Linked DNA regions of Homo sapiens: all the other regions are linked to region 2. Evidence: promoter capture Hi-C in 16 types of primary human blood cells and fetal thymus (Javierre and others, 2016). All regions are on one chromosome and are shown on one strand. Each heading gives the region's core, a stretch centred on a gene start or on the middle of the fragment in contact. The rest is flanking DNA. Distances are from core to core; before and after follow the strand shown.

Region 1 (3,989 bases), core at 451-2,950, 72 kb after region 2:
TTACAGGCATGAGCCACTGCGCCTGGCCAGCTTTGTTCTTTTCTTATACATTAACCCATAAATTCTCCATTGATGCCTCAACAAGTCTTATATTTTATCCATTTAATTTAATTTAATTTTTTTTTTGAGACAGGATCTCACTCTGTTGCCCAGGATGGCATGCAGTGGCATGATCACAGCTCACTGCAGCCTCAACCTCTCCTGGGGGCTCAGGTGATCCTCCCACCTCAGCCTCCCAAGTAGCTGGGACTACAGATGTATAACACCACATTTAGCTAATTTTGGGTTTTTTTTTTGGTAGGGACTGGGTTTCGCCATGTTGCCCAGGCTGGTCTTGAACTCCTGGGCTCAAGCAATCTGCCCACCTTGGCTTCCCAAAGTGCCAGGATTACAGATGTGAGCCATTGTGCCCAACCTTATTTTTTTATATTCCATGATAAACTTAAGAATGTATAATTATGGCCAGGCACAGTGGCCCACGCCTGTAATCCCAACACTTTGGGAGGTCGAGGCGGGCAGTTCACCTCAGGTCAGAAGTTCGAGACCAGCCTGGCCAACATGATGAAACCCCATCTCTACTAAAAATACAAAAATTAGCTGGTGTGGTGGTGGACACCTGTAATCCCAGCTACTCAGGAGTCTGAGGCAGGAGAATCACTTGGACCTGGGAGGCAGAGGTTGCAGTGAGGCGAGATTGTGCCATTGCACTCCAGCCTGGATGATAGAGTGAGACTCCATCTAAAAAAAAAAAAAAAAAAAGAATGTATAATTACTCTATTGGTCAGTTTCCTCCAATATATAGGGATTGATAAGACTGTCAAGTATATTTTTTGTAACAATTTGTAGATTCTTATGCTGTTGCTCCTATGCTATTACTTAAGCTATATTATCAATGCATTTTAAATGACATTTTAATAAATATTTAGGTACTCTTTCATCTACTGGACAGAGTTCGAGAGTCCTCTACCACTGCAGACAAAGAAAAGATTGAGTCTGGAGGTGGCAATATTCTCATTCATCATTCAAGGGACACCGCCGAGAAGCAATGGGCTGAGACGTGGGTATTAACATTGGCTGGAGTAGCAAGGATCTTCAACACTAGAAGATATTTGCTGCAGCCTTTAGGTATACGTACATTTTTTTCTGATTATACAAGTAATTAATGTTAAAAGAAATTTGGAAAATACAGACGATTCTTTTAGAGTCTATCTTAACTTAGTCTTTATGTGTGGTGTGTGTGTAAGCATCTGTGTTTTCATTCGTTTGTACCTACTGTGGGCTAGCCTCTAGAGGATACAATGAAAGGCAAAATACACGTCATTCTTGCTATCATGGGCATGAGGAAGTACCCATAATTACATAAATAAAGGCGAAATTTCTACAATGATGTGTTACAAGGAGTGGTACTTTGTGAGCTTCGGTAAGTATTTGACCTGGCCAGTGAATTCCAGATGGACTTTCCTGAGAAAGCAATAGTTTTCCTGAGATCTGTAGGGTAAGTAGGAGTTCATCAGGCAAGAGTAAGACGAAGTGTGGAGAGCCTTATAGTCAATGAGAGAATGTAAAAGAGACAGGAGAAGATTGAGGAAAAGAGATGGTGGATGCTAGCATGTTTAAAGGTCTAGAATGAGGAGAATAAGAAAGAGTTTGATTATCAAAGAGATTGAGAGGTAGTGAAAGGCCAGATCATCCAGATCATGTAGAATGTGTTAGGAGAAAGTTAGGAGGCTGGGCATGGTGGCTCATGCCTATAATCTCAACACTTCGGAAGGCTGAGGCAACAGGATAGCTTGAGCCCAGGAGTTTGAAACCAGCCTGAGAAATATAATGAGATCTCATCTCTACAAAAATTTTTTTAAAATAAAAAATCATCCAAATGTGGTGGTGCACACCTGCAATCCCAGCTACTTGGGAGGCTGAGTTGCAAGGCTTGCTTGAGCCTGGGATGTGGAGGTTGCTGCAGTTAGCCAAGATCGTGCCACTGCACTCAAGTCTGCGTGACAGAGTGAGACCCTGTCTCGAAAAAAAAAAAAGGATTTCATCCTAAGAGCAATGAAAAAAACTACTGATAGATTTTAATTCATGATTTGACATGATCAAATATGCACTTCAAAAAGATCACAAAGTGCATGTCTTAGTGTATATGTAGAATGGAATGGCAACAAGGAAGGATGACAGGATGTTGTTGGACTGGTTAGGAAGCTGTTGGTTGTGTATATCAGTGGTTCTCAAACAGGGCCTATTATACTCCCATAAGACATTTGGCAATTTTGGAGACATTTTTAGTTGTCATAACTGGGGAAGGTTGAGCATTACTGCTATCTGGGGAGGGTAGAGGCAAGGGTTGATGCTACACATCTTACAATGCAGCCTCCTATAACAAAGAATTATACAACCAGAAATGTCAATGGACTAAGACTGAGAAACCTGGTTGCCGATTATACTACTTTCAATTCTGGTGGTAATGCTGGTGGTGGTAGAAAAAGGTGAACAGAGATACTTTTGTACATAGTTATGAGCATGTTGTACATATTATCTATTTTATTATTTCGTGTTTGGCATTTTTTAAACTAATTTATGTTAAAGCACAAGCATATTTACTCATTCCATAAGCATTTTTGTATATTGTTCTTTATGTGCACTTTTTTCTCCTTTTTTCCAAAAACTATTTATGGTGTCTGATCCATTTAGCATGTTAGGGCTTGGTATATGTATTTTTAAATATTGGGATTTTTTCATATAAAATTTACGTACAGTGAAATGCACAAATTTTCACTGTACATTTGCTAAGTTTTGACAAAATGAGCATCATTTTTAGTACCTTCATGATATTTCTCTTAAAAGCTGAGAACGAATAGATTTATATATATATATATATATATATATATATATATATTTTTTTTTTTTTTTTTTTTTTTTTTTTTGAGATGGAGTCTCGTTCTTGTTGCCCAGGCTGGAGTGCAATGGCACGATCTTGGCTCACCCCAACCTCTGCCTCCCAGGTTCAAGCGATTCTCCTGCCTCAGCCTCCTGAGTAGCAGGGATTACAGACAGGCATGCGCCACCATGCCCGGCTAATTTTGTATTTTTAGTAGAAACGGGATTTCTTCATGTTGGTCAGGCTAGTCTCAAACTCCTGACTTCAGGTGATCTGCCTGCCTCAGCCTCCCAAAGTGCTGGGATTACAGGCGTGAGCCATCACGCCCAGCCTAGATTTAGATTTTTTTTAAATGAAGACATAAGACAGTTAATGTCTTTGATAATTTTTTATAACTTTAAGAAATGATATTTGTTATTTTAGAATAAGTTTTATATTTTTAACATAACCACGTGCAATATATAATTATATCTACTCTTTTAAAGGGACCCCTTCTCTGACATAAAATATGTTAATAGAGAAATTGCAGGAGTTTTTCTCCCTAAATGGCACGGGATATTCTAAATCTGATATTAGGTCACCATTCTGATTGGCAAATATAGTGATTCATGAGACTTTTAAACTTTGATGGCAACAGGTAGAAGTGTTTTAATTGTTTGACATTTTAAAATGTAATTTGTCAAAACTCTTTTAAACAGTTTACTTAAAATTCTGTGTTTTTATTGTATGTAAATTATACCTCAATTTTTTTTTTTTTTTTTGAGATGGAGTTTTGGAGTTTCACTCTTGTTGCCCAGGCTGGAGTGCAGTGGTGTGATCTCGGCTCACTGAAACCTCTGCCTCCTAGGTTCAAGCGATTCTCTTGCCTCGGCCTCTGAGTAGCTGGGATTACAGGTGCCCACCACCATGCCCAGCTAATTTTTTGTATTTTTAGTCGAGACAGGGTTTCATCATGTTGGCCAGGCTGGTCCCGAACTCCTGACCTCTGGTGATCCACCCGCCTTGGCCTTCCAAAGTGCAGGGATTACAGATGTGAGGCACTGGGCCCAGCCCTCAATTTTTAATAAAAAGAATATGGAGGGGAAAGATGCATATAACTAGGCAGGTGTTA
Region 2 (3,791 bases), core at 841-3,340:
CAAGGCCCTGTCTCTACCAAAAAAATTGAAAAATTAGCTGGACATGGTGGCATGTACCTATAGTACCAGCTCCTTGGAAGACGGTGGTGGAAGGATCACTTGAGCCCAGTAGTTTGAGGCTGCTGTAAGCCATGATTGTGGCATTGCACTCCAGGCTGGGCAGTACAGCAAGATCCTGTCTCTAAAAAAAAGGGGAAAAAAAGTAAAAAGAAACAGACATTTAATTTTAATAATAATTTAACGTAATAATTTGAAATATTATTTCAACATGTAGTCAGTATAAATATTTAGGGGATAGGTTATATTCTTTTTTTTAATACTAAGTCTTCAAAACCTAGTATATATTTTACACTTAGAGCATAGCTCAATTCAGACTGGCCACATTTCAAGTGCTTAATAGCCACATGTAGCCAAATGGCTACCAAATTGGACAGTGCAGTTCTGTGGCATTCTGTAAAATACTATGTGACTTGCCAGTACTGCCCGCTAAACATACTACGGTTAATGAAGTGTTTGGTTATCCATTCTCAAAAAAGAAAACAAAGTAGCTTTTAAAATCCAACACAGGTCTGGGCACGGTGGCCCATGCCTGTAATCCTGGCACTTTGGGAGGCTGAGATGGGTGGATCACTTGAGGTCAGGAGTTCAAGACCAGCCTGGCCAACTAAAAATACAAAAAGTACAAAAATAAAACACTCTACTAAAAATACAAAAATTAGCCAGGCATGGTGGTGGGTGCCTGTAATCCCAGCTACTTGGGAGGCTGAGGCAGGAGAATGGCTTGAACCAGGGAGGCGGAGGTTGTAGTGAGCCAAGATCGTGCCATTGGACTCCAGCCTGGGCAACAAGAGCAAAAAACTCCATCAACAATAAATAAATAAATCCAACACAGTAGTTTTACTTGATTTTGCAGTGTTCTATAATTTTTTTGTGTGTGGTGGAGAGAGAGGAGGCTTGAAATGGGGAAAAGGAGCCTAATTATTTTCAGTAGATTTTGTTTTTGTTTGTTATTTTTATTCTCGGAAAATTTAACTTTGCAGGGGATTGAGGTATTCCAGATAATGCCTTAAGGCAGAGGAAGGCAACATGTTGTAGTGCATTCAGAGTTTGCATGTGAATAATCAAATTAATCATGTTTTATTACATTTAACGTATATGTCACTACTGGGCTTAGTATCTGATGGTTTGAAAATTAAAAAGGTGGTAGGGTAGTGACTGACTTTGTGCTTGATATTTTGTCTATCACATATGACTTATTTTCCATAGATAATTCATTTTGGCAGTAAATTTTGTGTTCTAATTATTTTTATTCTTGCAGGCTGCTGAATCAGGAATAATAAAAGTTAAAACAATTGCTGCACGAAACACTGAAATTTTGGCAGGTAATTTTTTGTATTAAAAATTTAATAATAAACAAAAATTTGACTAATAGTAAAAGTAGAATCTTTATTGTAAAAGCCATCAGTTTTCTGTAACATCTCTTCCTCATGCCCTAACATATGCTATTCATAATGAAACAGAATGGGCAAAAGTCCATAACTTATGAACTGACTGTATTTCCCAGAGACGAATGCTACAAAAATTCTCTGAAATCAGAAAGCTTAACACTACTGACTCCTTAAAGGCAAGGAATTTTTTCTTACTCATCTTCGCATTCTCCTCCACTTCCTGCTAATCACCTGAGACACACCATAAAAAGCATTCAGTAATATTTGTTCCATTGTATTGAATGAAAGATTTGTTCTCAGTCCACCTTCTGTGATCTACTTTCTCTTTAATATAATACGAACAGTTCATAACATAGTCTTCTGTATTTAGTTGTACCGTATGAATTTTGAGTCTTGGGATTAAGGCAGTATGATCATGAAAAAAGAATGAGAGTGAAGTAGAGAAAAGAAAACAAAAATGTTTTCTTACCTTCTCTTGATTGAACCTGATTTTCAAGGAGGAATTTTCAGGAGTTTCTCTTTGGCATCCTTCTTTTCTACCCAGTCCACTCCTTTCTCTTCCTTGGTGCCTTTTGTTCTTGCCTCAATAATGAACATGGAAAAGAGGTAAACTGGCTTTTTTTTTTTTTTTTTTTTAAGAATCTGTTATATGCAAGGCACTTGTGTCATTCTATCTTACATAACAACCTTGTGGGGAAATATTATCTTATTTGATAGTAGAGCTAATTGAGATGTGAAGAGGTTAAGTTACTTGCCCAAGGTCACAGGAAAGGTGATAGAACCAGATTAAAATCCAGGAGTGTTCAGGAGCCCATGTTCTTCCTGCTACAGTGTGCTACCATGGTATCACCAGGTTTCCACGTTAGCCACTTACTCCCAAGTATTACATATGTAACCAGTGCTTGCTTCAGTGATCCTTTAATCTGCATTTCCAGTTCCAGTAGTGCTGTTGATCTCAGCTAATCTATGAGGAAAGTAGTCCTATTAAATTAATTTACAGAGTCCAAATAGTAAATAATCTCTTTAACTTTCATATACTTTACATTTTTTAAAAGGGATACCAGTAAATCTGTAACTGGTGGGATTTCAGAGTGTTATGAAATGAAATTAAGATTTTTGGGGTCAGATTAAGGATCGGGGGCAAGAGTGGATTTCACTTAGGCTATCCAGCTTTGCTGGAAATTTGCCCTTAGCATAAGCGCTCCTCAATTACATCTGTTTCCCACAGCTTTTTCCCTGATTTTGAACAGTCTTATCAAAACACCCAATAGTTTTATAACATTATGCACAGAAGTAAATAATGCTCTGTGTGCATATTGAGAAGTGGTATAGTGAAAGTGGTGGGTAAAGGCAGAGGTGCACATGGTAGGGTTAGGAAGGCTGGCAAGTGGGTTTTTTTTGTTTGTCTGTTTGTTTTTCCTGAGATGGACTTTTGCTCTTGTTATCCCAGCTGGAGTGCAATGGTGTGGTCTCGGCTTACTGCAACCTCTGCCTCCTGGGTTCAAGCGATTCTCCTGCCTCAGCCACCCGAGTAGCTGAGATTTCAGGTGCCCAACACCACATCTGGCTAATTTTTGTATTTTTAGTAGAGACAGGGTTTCATCATGTTGGCTAGGCTGGTCTCGAACTCCTGACCTCGGGGTTCTCCCGCCTCGGCCTCTCCAAGTGTTGGGATTACAGGCGTGAGCCACTGCGCCCGGCCAGCATGTGGGTTTTAATGGGAGATGTACATTAGGCAGATTAGCTACTGTGGGGAAATTGGTGTTTAAAGAAAAATGATGACCTGGATATTTTTATGTTGGAGACTTACCATAGGCCAATCGTATTAGAATATCACTGTAAATATTTAAAATATTTACTGTTGCTAATATCATTGTTGATACCGTGGTAAGTCCTTAATTATTCTCCAATAATACAAATTTTTATTGGTTTTATAGTTTGTGGAAGACTTTTTTTAAAAAAAGACTGATTTCCTCAGAGGATCACTGTTATTCCAGCATTCTATCCCAAGTAAAATGTCTAATAAATTACTCTTAAGATGAGTAAGAAAAATTTTGACTTAGTCGGTATGATTTAAATATATAGGCAGGCTGTTAATTTCATTTTAATTCAATTTGCATTATTCAAATCAAGTTAGAACAGATCTGGTGCAAATACAATTAATAGTCATGTTTTAATCTTCGTAGTATCCAGAGCCCATATACTTGAGGAGGTATATTTGCACTTAAACTTTATCCTAGTATTTTTTCTGAAGTATTTAAAGCAATTATACCTAAAAGTTGTAGATTTATAGACCACTATCATCTTGAAAATCAGAGGCTCTTCAAAACAGAGTTTAAATTA
Region 3 (4,053 bases), core at 850-3,349, 83 kb before region 2:
AACAGGTAACTTAATAGAAAGAGAATATTGCCCTTTGATTTCAGCCTTATTAAGGATAATACCTCAATTTCTTATTTATATACAAATGGGAAGAATAATTACTTTAGGATGGGAAGAATTATTTAGAAGCCGTACCCTACAAAGTGTCACTTTTTAGAAACAATGACCACATATAATTATTTTGGAAACATTGTGCAACTTTATTTCTTCAGTTATTGAGTAGTTTATACAAGGCATGGGATGGGGAAAGGGGCATTTTTTTAACTTAAAGATAAAGCAGATCTTTAAAAATTATGTGGATTAATGAATCACTTTTTGCCTTTTTCTTGCTGTGTACAGTCATCCCTTTGTATCAGTGGATACCACAGATGTTCAAATTCCTTATGTAAAATATTGTAGTATTTGCATATAACCTAACCACATCCTCTCATATACTTGTATGTGTAGATTATTTATAATACCTAATACAATGCCTGCACGTCACTTCATTCACATAAATTGAACATAGTACTCAGCACGTGGCAAATTCAAGTTTTACTCTTCAGGACTTTGTGGAATTTTTTTTTTTCCTCAAATATGTTTGATCTGTGGTTGGTTGGGTTCAGGGACGCAGAACCCATGTATGCACAGGACCGACTACACTTTTGTTAAAGACTAAAAGAGATTCTGGTGTTAAAAAAAAAAAAAAACACTATAGCATAATGAGTAGAGGTATCAGAAAAGAAATCGTCATAGAAAATTTAATAATAAGTTGAAATTTCAAACTATGAAGTCAGAAACAGATCTAGGTTTAAATCCTAACTGCTAGCTAACAGTATAGTACCTTGAGTAAATTATCCTTCTTTTGATGCCTTAATTTCCCATCTCTCAGGTGGGGAGAATAATAATGATAATACCTTCTTTATGAGACAATACATGTAAAGTGCATAACACTATGCCTGGTACACAGTAAGCACTACATGAATGTTAATTACCATTTATTATCATTAGTGTTATTATGTGAATTTAAAAATAATCTGTTTTTTCCTGAGATGAAAAAAGAATGTTTCAACTTACATGAAAATTATTTTTGGCATCTAATTGTAGAAATTAGAAATCATTTGAATCAATTGAATATGTAATAAATAAGCCTCATAGATGATTATCAGTGTTAATAGATATTCCTTATATAGATGATTATAGAGTTTTGAGGAGTCCCCAGAAAACCAAGATCATTTTCGTCACAGTGATTATATTTTTTTCATTAGATACTGCTTTTGCAAAAAATAAAGATGATGGAAAATGGTACTATTTTGATGACAGTAGTGTCTCCACTGCATCTGAAGACCAAATTGTGGTAAGTTTGTCTTATATTTCCTGAGAACTATGGGATTCACTGTCTTAAGGAGTGAATATAAATTAATAAAAGGGGCTCATGGAACACTGTAGTCTATATTCTAGCAGCTTGAGTAGCTAAAAGACACTAACTCTTATTTAAAGAAATGTCAAATTGTCCCCTAAATGGAAATTTGTCTTCTAAATTTGCCCACTAACAAAAGCATAAATTGCAAGGTGAAAAAATTTTTGGTAGTTTTCAACATGGAGTTTCTAATAAAAATAATTAAGTTTTGCTTTGGAAAGTAGATTCAGCTCTTAACTTTCTAGACATTGAGTACTTAAAGCCAGAATGTTTAAACAAGAGAAAAAAAATCCTTGAAGTACCTTACCGTACCTGTGATCTTTAAAGTCATATCCTGCCTTATGAAAATTAACTAAACTCAAAATGACATAATTAGATAAAACAAATTACAGATTTATAAAAGATTAATACTTGTGTACTTACTACTTTGATATTTTCTGAATAGTAAAAAAAATGAGGAAGTTCCGTCTGTTCACACTTACATCAGTTTATCATCCACCGCTGACTCTCAGTATGGGTTTGTGTGTGTGTGTGTATATGTATATATACACACAGATGCATACATATATATGTATATATACATATATATATATATATACTGTTATTTCTCTCCCTATATCTATGACAAAAAGAGACTTGAATACTATAAATTTTTAAAATTGTGTTAGTTTTAATTAACCACATTTTTTGTTTATATTTAAACTCCTAATTTTTTTTCTGCAAAAGAAAATCAATTCTGTTCTCCTCAAATTGCCCACCTCCTCCATCAGTCTTTTTAACAACACTGCCCTAATCTTGGCTTCAAATAAACAGTTATCTTGTTTATATATAGTATACAAATTTGAGGTTGCCATGCATTTTAACAATGATGATTCTTCATTTAGTCAACAAATTGAATATGATATATATAGAGAGAGAGAGATACACAAAAGACTCCATTCTAAACAGAGTTAAAAAGATAGCTGTCACTCAGTCCAGAGTTTAAAAGATAGCTATCTCTGATTTATAAACCAAAGAAGATAAGTAAATTAACAATTACAGCATGATAAGTACTATTAAATACCTTACTATGGCCACTTAGAAAGGGAACTTCTGTCTCAACTCAGATTTGGGGTTTGAGGGGACAATAACCAGCACAGGGAAGTTCATGTGGTAAAGATGATGTCTGACCTGAGTCTAGTAAAAATAAGAGTAAATTAAACAAAAGGTGTTCTAAGCAAAGAAAACGGTATCTACAAAAACAAGGAGGCATGACAAAGCGTGACATTTTAAGGGAACAGCACATAATTGGATGTGACTCAAAGGAAAAGCTCTTAAAGGGACATGGGGAAGAAATTAGTCTGGAGATAAATTTAGCGCTTAGATCAAGAAAAGTGGCATTCTAGTTGTTTAGACATTTTCTTACAGACTATGAGTAGCCATTAGATTGTTAAACAAGAGAATAACATTGTTCAGTTTGTATCTTAACATTTCTCTGAGAACATCATAGAAGATAGATTGGAGACACTGAGTAAAGAAACAGAAAAGCCATACAGGAGGCTGTCACATAATTTAAGCAATTAAAATAGTAGTTAGAACAATACAAACAAGGGGAGAATGGATTTATGAGATATTTACTGGACAGAATTAATATAACTTGATAAAAGATATAATAAGGATAATAGATGTAGAGATCCAGAGAAGGAGAAGTTTAAGATGACTTTTACTTCACCATTCACCAAGATTGGGAATATAGGAAGAATAGTTGCTGTTGAAGTTTGAGATGCCTGTATGATAGCTGTGTGGAAATTTCCATTAGGTTGTTGGACTCATAAGACAGGAGTTCAGGGGTGAGAACTGATTTAGGTTATACATTTGAGTTGTCAGCCTCAGGCAGCAGTTGAAGCCATAGGTTTAAATGAGTCACCTAGTGAGAGGATTCAGGTTGAGACAATGGTGGGCTGAGGACAGAACATAGTATGTTTAAAGGTCAGGATTTAATAAGTCCACAGAAGAGCCTGAGAAGAAACCAAAGAGATAGTAGGAGATCTGAGTAGTGTTGTCACAGAAGCAAAAAATTGTTTGTTGATAGGAAAAGAAATAGTGAAGCATTAAATGCTACTGAGAGATTGACCAAAAGAACTGGAAAGGTCACCCATTTCAGTTGTTTATTAGGTTATTGACCCTGCTGAAAGCCATTTTGCTAGAATGGTTTGGGGAAAAGCTAGATTACTTTGAGTTGAGAAGTGTGCATGAGAGTGAATGATGAGTATTGACAACTCTGTTTATCACCCTGACTATGAGGAAGAGGAAGAGAGGTATATGGCAGCTAGAAGGGGAAGTAGAATGGAGAGGGACTTATGATAGGAAAAACCTTAGGTATTTTTTAATGCCAAAGAGACAAGTCCAGTGGATAAGGACTCATTGAAGATACACAGTGATGATTGATGGAACAGCATCCTTAAGATGGTAGGAAAAGTTGGACTCTACAGCAAACATGGGATGAAGTGACTAGTATTAGAAGGGAGGAATTTACCTTTTCCTTAAGAGATGGTAGGAAAGAAAGCATAGAATTCTATTTTTACGTTAGAATTGTGATACAGTTTGTGTATCACAGTTAGAACTGTGATACAGTTGCATTTATTTCTTTGTCCAAATAATTTAGAAGCACATAA
Region 4 (4,054 bases), core at 760-3,259, 110 kb after region 2:
TCTTGTATAAAGCATCACATTTTACTATGCTTAGTGTTCCTGGGTTGTATTTATCTACATTATTAGAGGGAATTTTTATTTTAAAAAAATTGTCATTCATGAGAAGAATGGGAGTTCATGCCACATAGTATTTTACCAATTTATATAAAGTGGGAAAAGTCTTTAATACTTCATGATCACTTGAATTAAAGTTTTTGTATCTCTGGAAAGTAGAATAGTGCTTTCATTTGAATGAAAAGTGTTTATAGATTCAGAAAGAGAGATGATATCTTTGTATCTTGATTTATATACAGACCATTTCAGAGGAAGTTAAATGTCTTACAAATCCAATACTTTCTAATGCTCTAACAGTGTTGGCTATTTAAAAGAACATGTGGCAAGTTCTATATGAATATTCTTGGTCATCTCGACTAATTCTGAGGCAATGATGGACAGAGATGCTACTTCTTATTTAACTCTAGGCATGTTGACTTTTCAAAGCGGTTTCCTTATTTCTAAACAGAGATGATGATCAATGAGTTACTAATTCTTTAGAGGAAAAAATGCATAATTTGAGTGTGGAGTTGATTTTAATGACAGGGTAATTCAAGTTGTTTGATAAATTTATTACTATATTGTAAGAGAGATCTTTGACCATTTTTCTTCCTTTTTCTTGGACATCACTTTCTTCCCTCCCCTTCTCTCTTTTATGTTTTTATCCTTGTTAAATTTTATGTTTACGTTACCATCTTTCTTATACTTTCCCCTGATTTTTCTCTTTTAATTCCTCTTTCATTCTCTGCCTCTTCTCTTTCAGCTCTTTCTCTAATTGTGCCTATTCCTTGTTCATAAGAAGTGGAGCTGTTAGTGGTAGAACCACTGCTCATGGTTCTACCACTACAAAGTGGAAAGTAGAAATACTTTGCACTTTGGCCACTGTTGCGTTTTTGCCAAGGTAAAGTTCCCCTGCCATTTTGAAATAGCTGAACAAGTTAAAGTAATATGTTCCAAAAACTGGAAGTGCCATAAAAAACTAAAAATAAAAAAAAATTGTGACTATAACTCCTACTGTCTTTATGAATACACGGGATTCAGCAGCCAAGATGCTCACAAAATGGGATTGCTATAAATATGATGGATTCAGCACCTAAATTTGGAATAATCATGTCTTTTCTGTTATGTGGGTAGAGAGATTATATATCTTTTCTCAAAGTAAAGTATTTAAAACCTGTTTAAATGAGGGTTTTGGCTGGCGTGGTGGCCCACACCTGTAATCCCAGCACTTTGGGAAGCCAAGGTGGGAGTATCACTTGAGGCCAGGAGTTTGAGACTAGCCTAGACAACATAGCAAGATCCTATCTCTAGTTCAAAAAAATATTTTTAATTAGGGTTTTGGTTTTTTATGATTTTGGGGGGTGGGGGAGATATTTGTTTTTTTGAGGCAGACGTTTAAACTTTTAGATTTATCCCATCTTAATATTGATTTATATTGACACTGCCTACTTACAAGAATAATTTGAGGCAGCATATTGCCCATGTATTTCAACTATTTTCATTTTTCTGTTGCAAAGCAGTCTTTGATGGAAGACCCGGAATCTTATAGTTCTCATATCTGAGTCTTTCTGGAGTGTATTTGGTGTCTGTGTGATTGGTTCACCCAGAGGTCACCCAGAGGTCAATTGAAACCTTCCTAATTGTACTATGGTATTGATTCTATCCCCTCAAGTATGAAAAAATTAAATTTTCAGACCATTTTCAGTTGCTGCGAATGTAGTTACACTAAGTTTTATTTTAAACTAAAATTCAATAAACAGTGCAGCCAGGGAAGATCTGCTAAACCATGCCGTTATTTGGAAAATCATTGCAATATATTAACAACTGCTTCCTTCTATGATGTTTACTAGATGGAGAAAAATACTCCATACCTATATTGCAATTTTATTTTTATCTAGAAAAAGAAAATATTAGGCTTCAGACCCAACTGTGCAAATTTCATTTGCTTTCCATCTCTTACTACTACCTCTGTGTCATAATTTAACACGTAACATACAACTCCTGTCTCTTAAGGCAGCTACCATATGGTGTTTATGTCAGACTGGATATATTTATCTAATTTTGTGAAATTATTTTTTAGTTCCCAACACAATTCTTGAAAGTAATACCACTGTTGTTACTCTTTCTCCTTACAATTTTTATGTTGTTGAGATGTATCAGTTATGTATTATAATCATGAAATTGTATTGGCCTCAAACCCAAATTTTCTTTGTAGTCTAGGATAGATTTTTCATGAAAGCTATATAGTTATAACTGTGATTGTACAGATTGTTTATTTGTTTTACAGCTAACATTAAGCATGATTCCAGGTTTTTAATTATGTTCCAGCAACACTAGTGTTTCTTTATAACTTAAAATCATAACCACTTTGATAATTTACCTTTGGATCTGACCAGTGATTCATTTTTTTCTTGAATATACTTTGTGTTTGCTTTCTCATCCCCGTTAAGTCTGAAACATTATTGACACCCCACATCACTTACTCTGTTTAAAGACTTTACGAGTAGTGAGTCACATGTTTAGGATGATCACTTTGGGAAAAAAAAAATTATAGAGTAAAGGGGAAATGTTCTTGAGAGCTTTATTAAAACCATTAATATATAAAATGAAAAAATAATAAACAGAAGACACGAAGTGTCTCTCAATAGTTTAGAAAGAAAGATTTGGAACTTTAAGTAAAAATGCTAGGTCAAGTAAAAATCCTGATGTAGATTAGATTATCTTAATCTTATGAGCATTTTTTTTTAATTTGGTGAAGCTGTTTTGAAACTGCCTGTCCATATCAATGCCAGACTATCTCTCTACCTCTCAAAGAAAATAATTTGCATTAAAATTCCTTTTTTTGTTATGTAATGAAAGTATAAAACAAGAATTTGTACGTTACTCAGTGTGTACTGCAGTCAGATATAGTTAAAATAATTTTTCTGATGCGTAATTTTAACCACCATTTCTGGAGTACCTAGTATGTGCAGGCCAAGGCTTTGCCTATATTATTCCCTTTAATCCTCAAAGTAGCCTTGCAAAGAAGTTATTTTCATTTTACAGAAGAGTCAAGGATTAGGGGGTTGAAGTGAGCTGCCTAGAGTCACATACCTAAAGTCCAGGTGGATCACTATGTCTTGCTTTTTCAAAAGCAGTTCTTTCTACTACAGTACAATAGTTTCATGTTTTACAGTCCATTAAAATCCAAGACTTATAAAATAAACTAAAAATACTCTTGAGGCAATTACTATTTCTATGATGGGCACTGGGACAAATATACTTGAACATAACAAAGAACTAAAAATACTGTGAAAAAAAGATTTGTCTTAACGATGACCTTGAAAGTTGCATTGGGTTTTTATTATTGGTCCAGGTTTAAAACATTTTATCTATTTAAAACATATGTTGTGTGTTTTAAGAAGTTATGTTATAAATAACAGCATTGTGGTTAAGAGCCCAGAGTCTGGGGCCAGGCTTCTTAGATGCAAATCCCAACTCTGTTATTTTACTAAATGTGTGACCTTGGGCAAGTTAATTAACCTGTTTTGGTGTCCTCCTCTGTGAAATGGAGTTAATCGTGGTATTTAACAGAATTCAAAATGTAGTGTGTTCTAAAGCGCTGTGCCTGGAGCATCATCACCACTAGGTGGTTAGGGAAGTAAAACACATTTGGCACACATCATTCAAGAATGGCCAGAAAATCCATGTCTTCCCACAATAGGGACCAATTTTTTGCCTTTCACCAGACAACCACTGAATGTTAAGAATCTACTGTGTGCTAATAACTGTGTCCTTGCTGTATGACAGAAGCTATTTGGAGCGCTCTCAAGTGCTTATTACAGCTAGTCAAGGAAACCGCATATATAAAATAATACTGGATACAAGACTATACAATTAAATACTGGTGTATCACTAACAACTGTTTAGACCCTGTTTTTGCGTTAAGCATTGGGTTAGTCTCTGTCCTCATGGAGTTTTCAGTTTTATAGGGAATACAGACCTTTTAACAAGTATGTAAAGTACAGTAAAAGACAAGTAC
Region 5 (4,329 bases), core at 1,535-4,034, 90 kb after region 2:
AAACTTTAAATAAAATTAAAATTTTCTTCAGTCTCTCTAGGCATGTTTTAAGTACTCATTGCCACGGGTGACTAGCAGCTGCCACACTGGGTAGAGCAGATTATTGGACATTTCCATCATCACAGAAAGTTGTGTTGGGCAGGACAGATTTAAAGCGTGCCCTTTTACTAAATGTGGACTTGTCTGTAATAGCTGTAATAGCCAGGCAGTGTTTAATCCTTCTAGCACAAGTAATTATCGTTTGTGTTACATTGGTGAAATTCTTTTCTGAGACAGAGCCTTGCTTTGTTGCCCAGACCCAAGTGCAGCAGTGTGATCACAGCTCACTGCAGCCTCGACCTCCCAGGCTCAAGCAATCCTCTCACCTCAGCCTCCTGAGTAGCTGGGACCACAAGTGCACACCACCACACCTGGCTAATTTTAAAATTTTTTGTAGAGATGGAGGGTCTCACTGTGTTGCCTAGGTGTCTTGAACTAACTTCTGGGCTCAAGTGATCCTCCCACTTCGGCTTCACAAAGTGCTGGGATTACAGGCATGAGCCACTGTGCCTGGCCAATTTTTTAAATGTTTGTATCCATCAATCATTTTTTGATATTGTAGAATGATACCGTGTACTGCTAAATAACCATTTAACATTATTAGTTTGAAGCCACTTAAATTATGGATTTGATGTACTTGAAGAAAAAAACTACATTGGCATATGGATAATGATTGAGTCCACAACAGAATGAATTAACTGAAAAAAATTTTCTTTACTATTCTAATATGGTTTAGTTATTCAGTAAAAAAAATTTCTAGGGTGCAGAAGATTAACTTGCATTTTCCCAGTAAAAGTTTGTCTTATAGTTCAGAATTTAAAATAATAACAGGTGATCCTAATTTCTGTCTTGCAAGTGGTCAGACTTTGTTTTGTAGTTTATGTATTTTTCACTTCTAGAAATGTTATTGATACCAATGTAAGCATACTCTGTTTCTGAAGGAAAAATTATAGGCGCTCATAAACTATATTCAAACAAATTATGTTTTCATCTTTAAAATAACTCTGAAAATTTGAGTTCCTTCGTAGACATAAGAGCCTGAGTCACTGTTAATTTGTATCAAGCACATAGGTTGAGAAATTTACATTTTTCCTTTTATTTTCTAATTGTCTATATATGCTTAATGCCCCATTAACAAATTGAATAAGCTTTCAGATCAGCTTTTTTTTTTTTTTTGCAATGAGTAAAACTTCTTTAAGTATTGCTTTCCCTAGCAAGGTGTGGTGACACACCTGTAATCCCAGCTACTTTGGGAGGCTGAGGTGGGAGGATTGCCGAGGCCCAGGAGTCAAATCCAGCCTGAGCAACATAGCAAGATCCTGTATATAAAAAAAAATGGTTTTCTATGTAAAATAATAATATTTTATATAATTTTGTATTAATGCAGTTGTAGTATAATTTCATTTAAAATTTTAGCTCTAAATTTGGAGGTTTTTTTTTGCTTGTTTTTGTTTTTCTTGAGAGTTTTTCTGCCATCTTCCTTATTCTTGAATTTCTTATTAAATATTCTTCACTTTCTGGACTTTATTCTTATTTTATTAAATCCCGTTTTCTGAAGTTTTTTAATATAGAAAAGTGGACACTGGAACCAAAGGCCAAATAATAGTATTTTACATAATTTTGTATCAATGCAGTTGTAGTATAATTTCATTTAAAATATTTTGCCTGATTATGGCTCTACTTACCTTAAAGGTTTGAGTATGTTTGGTGTGTTGGAAAATACATTACTTAAGAAGCAGCCAGCATAGTGGATAAGAGCATTGGCTTGGCAACCAGACTACCTGGATTCAAATCCCAGTAGTACTACTTTGTACTACTTTTTAGACAAGTTATTAAACCTTTCAGTGACTCATTTTTCCTCATCTGTTAAATGTCAATAATAATGCTCCCTAACTTACAGGGTTATTGTGAGGATTAAATCACTTAAAATGAATGAATGCTTAGAATAGCACCTGGCATGTAAGTACTTTAAAATGCTTGTTTCCACTATTATTGTCATTAATGTTTTTTCTTTCTTTTAAAAAAGGTGACATTATCCATATTAATTCCCATGAAACAACTATTATTTTAAACCAAAATTCTAAAGGCCAAAACTCTAAATGACTGAGACTTGGAAATTTAGCTCTAAATTTGGAGGTTTTTGTTTGTTTTTGTTTTTCTTGAGACAGTGTCTCGCTCTGTCACCCAGGCTGGAGTGAAGTCGCATGTTCATGGCTCACTGCGGCCTTGACCTCCTGGCCTCAGGTGATTCTCCCACCTCAGCCTCTCTTGTAGCTCGGACTATAGGCATGCACCACCACACCCAGCTAATTTTTGTATTTTTTTTGTAGAGATGGGATTTTGCCATGTTGCCCAGGCTTGGAGTTATTTTTAATGGCTAAAAATAATAAAGCTTCTAAATTCAGCTCTCAAGTAACACAGTATCAGTATTCTAAGTTATGGTTATTCTAGTTACAGATTTAAGCTTTCTACTCCATGGAGTAGTTGATGAACACCCTAGATTGAGAGTCAGGAGACCTGTGACCTGGTCCTGACTTGCTGTCTACTTTCTGTTGATCGTGAGCTGGTCCTTTCCCATCACTAGGCATTATTTTCTTTATTTGAAAGACAAAAAGAAGGCCAACCGGAGTACGTAATCCCAGCATTTTGTGAGGCCAAGTTGGGTGGATTGCTTGGGCCCAGGAGTTCAAGACCAGCCTGGGCAACATAGTGAGACTCCGCCTCTACAAAAAAAATTTAAAAATTAGCCAGATATGGTGGCATGTGCCTGTAGTCCCAGCTACTTGGGATGCTGAGGTGGGATGATCACTTGAGCCCAGGAGGTTGAGATTGCAGTGAGCTGTGACTGTGCCACTGCACTCCAGCCTGGGCAACAGAGTGAGACCCTGTCTCAACAAAGAAAGATGAAAAGTTATTTGTTGGAGTAATTGTAAAGGTCCATGAATGTTTAATCATGGACAGCTTATACTGGATAAAGCCAGTTTAGTTTTTGTTTCATAGTTCAAAAATACTTTAAGGCTCAAATTGAAAGCTTTTATTGGTCAGTTGATACTAAAAGTGCAGTGTTAAGAGAACTTAAAAACCATGCACATTTTCAGTTTCATAACAGGTTTTCTCTTTGTTTTTATTTTCTAAATAATTGATAACTTTGGAGGTCATAAACTTTTAGATTTTAAACCTTACTTAATGCCACATATGTACTATGTTCTATAGCTGAAGTTTATCAGTAGTGTTTGAACAGTAGGAAGATTGTTTTGGAAAGTTGCTTGGAATAGCAAGACTTAATGAATTTAAATAAGACTAATACTTGATTATTTTTTATATTGGTACCTTTATAAATCCTTTAACCTAATTAATACATACTCTAAGACTTTAAGAATAAACATATCTCTGTCTGTAATATTCCCCAAACTTTTTGATCTGCAAGATGCTTTGGCAAGGGAATACAATAACACAGAAAATACAAATAAAATGAACTAGCAGAAAAGAAAGCCTTTGCATGTCGTTGAGGGCTATAAGTAAACAGTTTAAGAGAAAGAAAAAGACAAAGTTGAAAAACACAAGGACTGCAATTTGGTAGACACTTGAAGTCTATTAGAAATTCATTTAGCCAACTTTGAGTACCAAAACATGGTAGTTATAAAGGAGACACAATGGGTGAGTGGGAAGTTACACAATCTGTGGACCTTACATTAAAAATCACAAAGTACTGTGCAAAAGAATTGAAAACACATGTTTACACAAAAACTTGTACACTAATGTTCATAGCAGTGTTATTCATAGTAGCAAAAAAGTGAAATTGAATGTAATATATTCAATATTCAATATATTGAATGTAATATAGTAGCAAAAAAGACAAATTGAATGTAATGTATTCATACAGTGGAACATTATTCAGCCATAAAAAAGAATGAAGTGCTAATGCATGCTCAAACATGGATGAACATTTACAACATAATGCTAAGCGGAAGAAACTAGACACAAAAGGCTATATATTGTATGATCTTGTTTATGGGATATATCCAGAGTAACAAATCCATAGAGACAAAGTAGATTTATGGTTCCCAGGAGTTGAGGGGAAGGGAGATGAGGGAGAGTGACTGCTAATGGGTACAGATCTTTTTGGGGGGGTGATCAAAATGTTCTGGAATTAGAAATGGTGATGGTTGTACAACTTTATGAATATACTAAGGAACACTAAATTGTATATTTTAAAAGGGTGAATTTTATAATATATAGATTATATTGCAACAAAAATTTTAATATGTCATACAGAGAGAACTGACAAAA

The links. Contacts are between HindIII fragments. The CHiCAGO score rates a contact against its expected background, and 5 or more counts as called.
Region 1: a fragment that was not itself captured here is called in contact with the fragment with the promoter of MON2-AS1 in region 2 in 4 of 17 cell types (total B cells, naive B cells, naive CD8 T cells and 1 more); the score reaches 6.0 in total B cells.
Region 3: a fragment that was not itself captured here is called in contact with the fragment with the promoter of MON2-AS1 in region 2 in 5 of 17 cell types (naive B cells, total CD8 T cells, total B cells and 2 more); the score reaches 6.2 in naive B cells.
Region 4: a fragment that was not itself captured here is called in contact with the fragment with the promoter of MON2-AS1 in region 2 in 2 of 17 cell types (total B cells and naive B cells); the score reaches 5.3 in total B cells.
Region 5: a fragment that was not itself captured here is called in contact with the fragment with the promoter of MON2-AS1 in region 2 in 6 of 17 cell types (naive B cells, total B cells, total CD8 T cells and 3 more); the score reaches 8.0 in naive B cells.

What each region holds. Positions count from the first base shown.
Region 1 is chr12:62,555,068-62,559,056 of GRCh38, forward strand. It overlaps MON2 (MON2 regulator of endosome-to-Golgi trafficking), which reads left to right. Exons shown (of 35, transcript NM_015026.3): 25 at 927-1,125. Among named protein-coding and RNA genes, the nearest start is that of MIRLET7IHG, 46 kb to the right of the region's middle. The HindIII fragment of the contact is 4,688 bases long and covers 1-3,989 here.
Region 2 is chr12:62,482,852-62,486,642 of GRCh38, forward strand. It overlaps MON2-AS1 (MON2 antisense RNA 1), which reads right to left and starts at 2,091. Exons shown (of 2, transcript NR_186172.1): 1 at 1,918-2,091; 2 at 1-181. MON2 (MON2 regulator of endosome-to-Golgi trafficking) reads left to right here. Exons shown (of 35, transcript NM_015026.3): 2 at 1,319-1,382. The HindIII fragment of the contact is 7,471 bases long and covers 1,599-3,791 here.
Region 3 is chr12:62,399,940-62,403,992 of GRCh38, forward strand. It overlaps USP15 (ubiquitin specific peptidase 15), which reads left to right. Exons shown (of 22, transcript NM_001252078.2): 21 at 1,248-1,336. Among named protein-coding and RNA genes, the nearest start is that of MON2, 65 kb to the right of the region's middle. The HindIII fragment of the contact is 6,516 bases long and covers 1-4,053 here.
Region 4 is chr12:62,596,546-62,600,599 of GRCh38, forward strand. It overlaps MON2 (MON2 regulator of endosome-to-Golgi trafficking), which reads left to right. Exons shown (of 35, transcript NM_015026.3): 35 at 1-3,931. Among named protein-coding and RNA genes, the nearest start is that of MIRLET7IHG, 4.2 kb to the right of the region's middle. The HindIII fragment of the contact is 7,638 bases long and covers 1-4,054 here.
Region 5 is chr12:62,572,195-62,576,523 of GRCh38, forward strand. The region is part of intron 30 of MON2 (MON2 regulator of endosome-to-Golgi trafficking); the gene reads left to right. Among named protein-coding and RNA genes, the nearest start is that of MIRLET7IHG, 28 kb to the right of the region's middle. The HindIII fragment of the contact is 567 bases long and covers 2,502-3,068 here.